Linked DNA regions of Homo sapiens: regions 1 and 2 are each linked to region 3. The links are contacts of gene promoters, found by promoter capture Hi-C in blood cells and fetal thymus (Javierre and others, 2016). All regions are on one chromosome and are shown on one strand. The core of a region is centred on a gene start or on the middle of the fragment in contact, and the rest is flanking DNA. Distances in the headings are between cores, read along the strand shown.

Region 1 (2,881 bases), core at 1-2,500, 2.8 Mb before region 3:
ATATTTTCTTTCTTTTTTCTTTTAATGTCTGTATGAGGCCATTCTTGCTTTGCTATAAATAAATACCTGAAACTGTGTAATTTATAAGAAAAGAGATTTAATTGGCCCACAGTTCTGCAGGCTCTACAGGAAGCATGTGCTTCCTGTCACCACCATCTGCTTCTGGGGAGGCCTCAGGAAGCTTACATGGCAGAAGGCAAAGAGGGAGCAGGCTTCTCACATAACAGGAGTGGGAATGAAAGAGAGAGCAAGGTGCCACACTGTTTTAAATGACCAGATCTCACAAGAAGTTACTCACTGTAGTGAGGATAGCACCAAGAAGATAGTGCTAAGCTATTCATGAGAAATCCACCCTCATGATCCAGTCACCTCCCACCAGGTCCCACTTTCAATACTGGGGATTACATTTCAATATGAAATTTGGGTGGAGACACAAATCTAAACTGTATTATTCTGCCCCGGCCCCTCCCAAATCTCATGCCCTTCTTGAATTTCAAAATACAATAATCTCTTCCCAATAGTCCCCCAAAGTCTTAACTTCCTCTAGCATTAACTTAAAAGTCCCAAGTTCAAGTCCAAAGTCTCATCTGATACTCATCTCCTTTTACCTATGAGCCTGCAAAATCAAAACAAGTTAGTTACTCCCAAGATACAAAGCGGGTAAAGGCATTAGGTAAATATTCTCATTCCAAAAGGGGGAAATTGGTCAAAAGAAAGGAGCTACAGGACCCATGAAAGTTCAAAACTCAGCAGGGCAGCCACTAAATCTTAAAGCTCCAAAATAATACCCTTTGACTCCATGTCCCACATCTAGGGCACACTGGTGCAAGGAATGGGCTCCCAAGGCCTTAGGCAGCTCTGTCCCTGTGGCTTTGCAGGGGCTCCTGAGGTTGCTCTCATGGGATGGCTTTGAGTGCCTATAGCTTTTGCAGGTGCAGGGTGCAAGCTGCCAGTGAATCTATCATTCTTGGGTCTGCAGGATGGTGGTTCTCTTCCCACAGCTCCTAGGCAGTGCCCCAGTGGGGACTTTGTGAGGGGGCTTCAATCCCACATTTCCCCTCTGCACTGTCATAGTAGAGGTTCTCCATGAGGGTTTCTACCCTGCAACAGACTTCTGCCTAGACACCCAGGCTTTTCCATACATTCTCTGAAATCTAGGTGGAGAATCCCAAGCCTCAACCCTTGCACTCTGTGCACTCACAGGCTTAATAACACATGGAAGCCACAAAGGCTCATGGCTTGCACCCTCTGGAGCTGTGGCCCAAGCTGTACCTGGGCCCTTTTGATCTGAGGCCAGAACCCTAGCAGAACCCGAGCAGCTGGGATGCAGGGAGCAGTGTCCTGAGGCTCTGTAGGGCAGAGGGGCTCTGGGCCTGACCCATGAAACCATTCTCTCCTTTTAGACCTCTGGCTCTGTGATGGGAGGGGCTGCTGAAAGGTCTCTGAAATGCCTCTGAGGTTTTTTCCCCATTGCCTTGGCTGTGTTTGAAGTTATGCTGATTTCTCTAGGAAGAGGTCTCTGAAATGCCTTTGAGGTTTTTTCCCCATTGTCTTGGCTGTCAGCCCTTGGCTTCTTTGTAGTTATGTGAATTTCTCTAGGAAGTCGTTGCTCTACAAGCCTGCTTGAAATCCTCTCTCAAAAACTTTTTCTTTCTTTGCCATGTGGCCAAGTTGCAAATTTTCCAAACTTTTCTGCTCTGCTTCCCTTTTAAATATAAGTTCCAACTTCAGGTCATTCCTTTGCCCTTGCATCTGCGCATAGGCTGTTAGAAACAGGCAGGAAACATCTTGAACACTTTGGTGCTTAGAAATTTCTTCTACCATATACCCTAGGCATCACTCTCAAGTTCAAACTTCCGCAGATCCCTAGGGCATGTACAGAATGCAGCCAAGTTCTTTGCTGAGGCAAACGTGTGATGTTTGTTCCAGTTCCCGATAAATTCCTCATTTCCATCTGAGACCTCATTAGCCTGGACTTTATTGTCTGTATGACTATCAGCATTTTGGTCACAATGAGTTAACCAGTCTCTAAAAAGTTCCAAACTTTCCCTCATCTTCCTGTCTCCTTCTGAGCCTTCTACACACTTCTAGTCTCTGCGTGTTACTCAATTCCAAAGCTGCTTCCATATTTTCAGGTATCTTTATAGCAATGCCCCACTCCTTGGTACCATTTTTTCTGTATTAGGTTGTTCTTGCATTGCTATAAAGAAATATCTGAGACTGTGTAATTTATAAGAAAATTTATAATCTGCAGGCTCTACAGGAAGCATGTGCTTCCTGTCACCACCATCTGCTTCTGGGGAGGCCTCAGGAAGCTTACAGTCATGGCAGAAGGCAAAGAGGGAGCAGGCATCTTACATAACAGGAGTGGGAATGAAAGAGAGAGCAAGGTGCCACACTGTTTTAAATGACCAGATCTCACAAGAAGTTACTGTGTAATTTAGAAGTAAATTATAAGAAAAAGGTTTAATTGCATCTCAGTTCTTCAGGCTGTACAGGAAACATCTGCTTCCTGGCACCACCATCTGCTTCTAGAGAGGCCTCAGGAAGCTTACAGTCATGGCAGAAGGCAAAGTGGGAGCAGGCATCTCACATAACAGGAATGGGAACAAGAGAGAGAATGAAGTGCCACCCAGTTTTAAATAGCCAGATCTTGTGAGAAGTCACTCACTGTGGTGAAGACAGCACCAAGGGAGTGGCGCTGAACCATTCATGAGAAATCCATTCCCGTGATCCAGTCACCTCCCACCAGGCCCCATCTCCAACACTGAGAATTACGATTTAACATGAGATTTGGTTGGGGACATATTGCCAAACTATATCAATGTTTTAGTTTGGATTTCATATCAGAGTAATTCTGATCTCATAAAATGAGCTGGAA
Region 2 (2,700 bases), core at 199-2,698, 2.9 Mb before region 3:
AAAAAAAAAAAAAAAAGATGTTCTTCGATTTCACAGAGGAACACAACTTACCACGCCAATGTACGCGTCGCTTTTGCCTGGGCCGTTCCTTCTTCCTAGAATGTCCTGCTTCTTTCTCTTTGTCTAACTCATGTGAATGAACTTTTTAAAAAATTAGTATCCTTCAAAACTGTATTTGCTCAGGCGTTCTGATGTGAGGCCCTCCTGACTCTCCAGGTGCGGGTGCTTCTCTGCTCTGTGTCTCTCACCTCCAACAGCTTGTTCTGCCTGCGCACTATTTGCTGATGTGTTATCTCCGGGGATTCTCGAATTTCTCACCTTCATCCCCAAGGCCTGACAAAATACATGGCAGGTGTGCAAAAGGCTTGTTAGAAGACCTTAAGAAAATTAAAGAAAAGTGGTTTAAAAATAATTCGAATAACAATGTTTGCCAATGGAGACTTTTTTTTTTTTTTTGAGACGGAATCACGCTCTGTCGCCCAGATGCAACCTCCACCTCTCGAGTTCGAGCGCCTCTCCTGCTTCAGCCTCCTGAGTAGCTGGGATTACAGGCGCAGGCGACCACGCCCGGCTAATTTTTGTATTTTTAGTAGAGACAGGGTTTCATCATATTGGCCAGGATGGTCTCGATCTCCTGACCTGGTGATCCACCCGCCTTGGCCTCCCAAAGTGCTGAGATTACAGGCGTAAGCCACCACGCCCCTCCAACCCATGAACACTTTTAAAATTACTTGATTTGCTTACAGAGCAAAAGGTCAAATGGGGAGAATTCTAAAAGTTACCTTCTCAACTCAGTTTTCTCCCGGGTCGTGGTGCTTGAGGCACTGGATATCCCCTGGTTAAACACCCACGTGCAGTGGAGCAGGGAGGGGACGCGCCCCTTCGGGGGTGGGCGCCCAAGGCAAGGGGAGGAATGCGGCTTCCACGGCCTCCCCTCTCGCCCTCCTTTGTGCTTATTCTAATTCATGAATTCTAACATCTTTCTGCCCACTAAAAAATGTGCATTCATTCATCTGGCCACAGCCCTTACTGTAGATCCGCATCCCTGGAGCTCTCGAGGAGCCGCGGTTACCGCACGTGGGTGCCGGGCGCCAGGGGGTTCAAGGGCTTCCCGCGGTGACCCGAGCACGCCGGGGCGTGGCCCCCGAACTGCGGCCTGGGGGCGGGGAGAGAAGGGGCCCAACATGGTCCATCTCGACCTTCCTCTGCCGGGCCCAGGGCTTCAGCCCCGCTCCCATAGGCCCCGCCCCATCCCAGACCTCGCCCGCCTTCGGGATCTCAGCCCTGGCTCCGCTTCTTCAAGTACCGACAGGAAGTTGACGAGTTCGGGCTCGTCAGGGGCCGAGCTCCGGGCTCCGCCCTACGACACCGCCCCTCCCTAGGCCCCGGCCCTCATCAGGACTCCGCCCAGACGTGCGTCATCTTCCCGCGCCGGTGACGGAAGTGCGGTGTTGAGCGCCGGCGGCTCGCGCCCACGCTGGGCCGGGAGTCGAAATGCTTCCCGGTGCCGGGAGTGAGCGATGAGCTGGCTTCTGTTCCTGGCCCACAGAGTCGCCTTGGCCGCCTTGCCCTGCCGCCGCGGCTCTCGCGGGTTCGGGATGTTCTATGCCGTGAGGAGGGGCCGCAAGACCGGGGTCTTTCTGACCTGGTGAGTGGCCCGCCCGCCGAGGCGCCTCCCTGCCGGCATCGGGGTCGAGGGAGGCCGGAGCCCGGCTAACCCCGGCGGCGGGAGCCTGGCGGTCCGAGTCTGTGCCGCGCGCTGTGGCTGTGGGTGGTCGGGGGACCGCCTCGTTTTCCTGCTCGGCCGGCGGGGTTCCAGGAGGCTCATGGCCTGGGACTGGAACGCACCGAAGACTTGTTTGAAATATCAGAAACGTCGCGTAAAGGTTAGGGGTGGCCTAATAAACCCTGTGTTTAATCCTCCATCTTTGTTGCAGTTAAAGTGCAACAAAAAGTGACACGTAATCAGAACGAACCCCCGTTACCAGAAGACTTTCCGTACCAGCTAAATTGGGATTGGAACTCAGTACCTAATCTTCCCTTTTAAAAAAGGCAAATTCTAATAAGCCAGTATTTGCAGTTGGATCCTTGTAACAACCCTTGGAGGTGAGAGGGATTATTCTCACTTTCAGGTATAGTTCTTGGGGTCAGGAAGTTCCCAGGGCATGTAACTGACAGAGAAAGGACTTGAGCCCAGCTGTTCTGACTGTACCACCAGAACTCTTCCCACTACAAGATACCAAAGTTCGTTACCTGTGTTTCCCCATGCACGGCAGCTACAGTATTGAGGAAGAAGCATCTCAGAAGTTGACCTTTTTGTTGTAAAGAAATGGTTAATATTTTTTTCAAAGACCGCAGTATTTTGTTATGCTTTGAGTTTGACGAAAGCCTTATGGTGCTGGTGTGCTGGCTGGCTGGCATACAGTAGAACACAGGTGTAGAGTCTGACGTGCAGGATAAAACTATAAGGTGCGACTCTGCCCTTTTCACGCAAAAATTGGTCCTCTATATCCAGTTTGCATCCTCAGTTTCAGCTAACCATAGATCAAAAATATTTGGAAAAAATTAAAATAGAATACAGTTTTAAAATACGCATAAAAAGACAATACAACTATATAGATTGTATTAGGTATTATAAACTAGAGATGATTTAAAGCATGCAAGAAGATGTGTGTGGGTTATTTGCAAATACACCATTTT
Region 3 (2,700 bases), core at 1-2,500:
AGGAGTTCAAAACTAGCCTGGCCAACATGGTGAAACCCCGTCTCTACTAAAAATACAAAAAAAATTAGCCAGGTGAGGTGGCGAACACCTGTAATCCCAGCTACTCGGGAGGCTGAGGCAGGAGAATAGCTTGAACCCAGGAGGCGGAGGTTGCAGTGAGCCGAGGTCCCACCATTGTGCTCCAGCCTGGGCGACAGAGCGAGACATCGTCTTAAAAAAAAAAAAAAAAAACCAGGAAAGCCAAGCCCGAGATTTCCCAAACTCAGCAACAACAGTCGTGATGTTTTGAGAGGAAGGTTGAGAAACACAAAAGAGAGGAAGATGCACTATCTACCTAACGGGATGTTCCTGGAGTTGAATACAGGAAGAATAGAGAAAAATATCAATGAAAGAAATGTTTTCCCATAAGAAGAAACCATGACCTTCTACACTGAAATGAGAGAATGCATGTTAAGTAGCATAAGCAGAAATGACCACACTGTGGAAAGATTTTAAGAAAGATCTGGGAGGGGTTAAAGCTATTAAAAAAAAAAAAAAGTCCACCACTAGAACTATTTTTAGAAACATTAAACTAGTTCAAGAGCTAACATATGCAATTAAAGTATATACACTTAATAATTCATGATGTTAAAATAACAGAATGTTTAATTTGAAAATGTCAAAGTTGGGGTATAGATGTTAAAATAAAGGGAAAAAATTCGCTGGAAGAAAATTAACTTTATATTTTTGTATCTGTCGTTGAACAACGAAGTGAAGCGTAAGAACATCTGGTAAATCTCCAAAGTGAAGACAGATAACCCTAAGCTGACCCAGACTAAGAGTGCACTGCCCTTAGGGTCGCGAGAGCAGACACCTTCCCAAGTCCTGCAGGGTCCGAGGAGTGGGCAATGTCCCCGGCTCCTGCAGGGTCTCGGGGCGGACACCGTCCTCATTGATGCTCTGACCCTTCTAGGGAGTCCCAGGTGGGACAGGGCTGGCGTGGCGGTACAGCGCCCTGAGCCTTTGAAACAAACCTCCTAAATTCCACCCGCCTCCGCCTGCTCCTCTGTTAACGAACTAAAGACGCCCTCGGCCTCCTGGCGGAGCGAGCACAAGTCCCACAGCAGCGTAGTAAGTTTTCCGTATTACAGCGACCACCAGGAAATATCGCGATATCTGGACCTAGCAATGCCATGAAATTACCGCGAGAGGAAGCAAGCGCAAGTTTCGTGAGAAGGGCAGATCTCACGAGAGAGGATTTGGCGCCCTCCTCTGTGGATTCTGGCCAGGCCGGGTTCGGCGGTTGCTGTGAGAGCGGGCTTCCCAACACCATGCCGTCCGCCTTCTCTGTCAGCTCTTTCCCCGTCAGCATCCCAGCCGTGCTCACGGTAACTCGCGGCCCGCGTAACCACCAGTTCGGGGGAGGACGGCGGAGAGGCGTAGGGTAGGCCCCACAGAGCACCCGGCCTGTGGCCAAGAAGGCCCCGGCCGTGGGCGGGGCCTTGTGGCGGAGCGCGCGCGCTGGGCAGGGTCCTGAGACCTGTGGGAGTGGCTCGGGGCCGGCGTCGGGGGCGCGCGCTGTGGGCGGGGTCCTGGGCCCTGTGGGAGGGGGCCGGGGCCGGGCGTCGGGGCGCGAGCGCTAGGCGGGGTCCTGGGCCGTTGGGCGGGGAGGGGCGGGGCCGGGCGGGGCCTTGTGGAGGAGCGTGCGCAGTGAGCTGGCTCCGGCGCTCTGTGGCCCGGGCTTGGGCTGGGCTGGCGTCCTGCACCGTGCGGGCGTGGCTGAGTTGTGTGGGCGGAGCGCGAGGGGTAGGGCTTTGTTCGTGTGGGAGGTGCACGCCGGCCAGTCCAGCGTCTTGCGGGCGGGGCTTGGGCCATGTGGGCGGATTCTGGCAGTGCGGCGGGGCGTGCGTGGTGGAGCCTGATCGTGTGGGGTGGCACGGAGGAACGCTGCCCAGTGTGGGCGGGGCGTGCGCCGTGCCGGGTTCGTCTGACAGATCCCAGGGGAGCCCACGCCCCACGTGGCCGCCAAGGGGTGACATGGGCACTCGATGGGGTCTGGGCAGAAAGCCGTGCTCCCCTCACCTCCGTGCCTCTGGTCTTCTGGTGGGTGCATTGATGGGAGTAGATGCGCTTGTGTCCTTATGTCATGGCGCGGCTCTGGAGAAGCCGCTGCGGTCCCCAGCAGAGAGTAGTGACACAGGAGTTCTGGAGGGCTGTGCCGGGCTGCAGCTTGGAGGGCAGGGCGGGGCTGCAGCTTGGAGGGCAGGGCGGGGCTGCAGCTTGGAGGGCAGGGCTTGTCTTCTGCAGGAGGGCGCTCAAGGAGGGGATGGGGAGGGTTGAGGACTGCTGGGATTGGCATCTGAGCATCAGGTGGGGACTGAGCAGCAGTGGATCTGAGCCTGGCTACTTCAGGTCCCTGAGCCAGACACTGTCCCCAGGTACAGCAGGGTCCCGGGGAGTCCAGGAGGCGGCGGAGTGCGGCACTGTCTGGAGAGTTCAGTGTATTGCAGAGAGGTTGGAGAAAATCAAGTCTTGCACGTGGCGATGGCTCAAGATTCCCTGAGGTCTTCAGTGCTGACTAAGGAGTCTGAAATGATGATTCATGTTTTACCTTTGGGGCTGAGCCAAGTGCATCTCTTTGAGCAATCGTCTTAATTTCCTTGTCGTCACCAATTATCATAACCAATTATCATCGTAAAGGATGGTAATTCCTTTAATTAT

Evidence for each region. The method cuts DNA at HindIII sites, captures the fragments that hold promoters and counts their contacts. A CHiCAGO score of 5 or more calls a contact.
Region 1: a contact is called between a fragment that was not itself captured here and the fragment with the promoter of TMEM18 in region 3, in 1 of 17 cell types (monocytes). The highest score is 5.6, in monocytes.
Region 2: a contact is called between the fragment with the promoter of RNASEH1 here and the fragment with the promoter of TMEM18 in region 3, in 1 of 17 cell types (monocytes). The highest score is 8.9, in monocytes.

What each region holds. Positions count from the first base shown.
Region 1 is chr2:3,510,915-3,513,795 of GRCh38, reverse strand. The region is part of intron 2 of ADI1 (acireductone dioxygenase 1); the gene reads left to right. Among named protein-coding and RNA genes, the nearest start is that of ADI1, 7.2 kb to the left of the region's middle. The HindIII fragment of the contact is 2,134 bases long and covers 184-2,317 here.
Region 2 is chr2:3,557,081-3,559,780 of GRCh38, reverse strand. RNASEH1 (ribonuclease H1) reads left to right here and starts at 1,448. Exons shown (of 8, transcript NM_002936.6): 1 at 1,448-1,648. The coding sequence starts at 1,521. RNASEH1-DT (RNASEH1 divergent transcript) reads right to left here and starts at 1,395. Exons shown (of 3, transcript NR_038429.1): 1 at 783-1,395; 2 at 52-333. RefSeq lists silencers at 997-1,316, 1,687-1,786 and an enhancer at 1,347-1,596. The HindIII fragment of the contact is 22,605 bases long and covers 1-2,700 here.
Region 3 is chr2:675,956-678,655 of GRCh38, reverse strand. TMEM18 (transmembrane protein 18) reads left to right here and starts at 1,250. Exons shown (of 5, transcript NM_152834.4): 1 at 1,250-1,367. The coding sequence starts at 1,311. It overlaps TMEM18-DT (TMEM18 divergent transcript), which reads right to left and starts at 1,284. Exons shown (of 3, transcript NR_183417.1): 1 at 1,183-1,284. RefSeq lists enhancers at 1,108-1,177, 1,208-1,307, 1,210-1,975 and a silencer at 1,468-1,717. The HindIII fragment of the contact is 12,744 bases long and covers 1-2,700 here.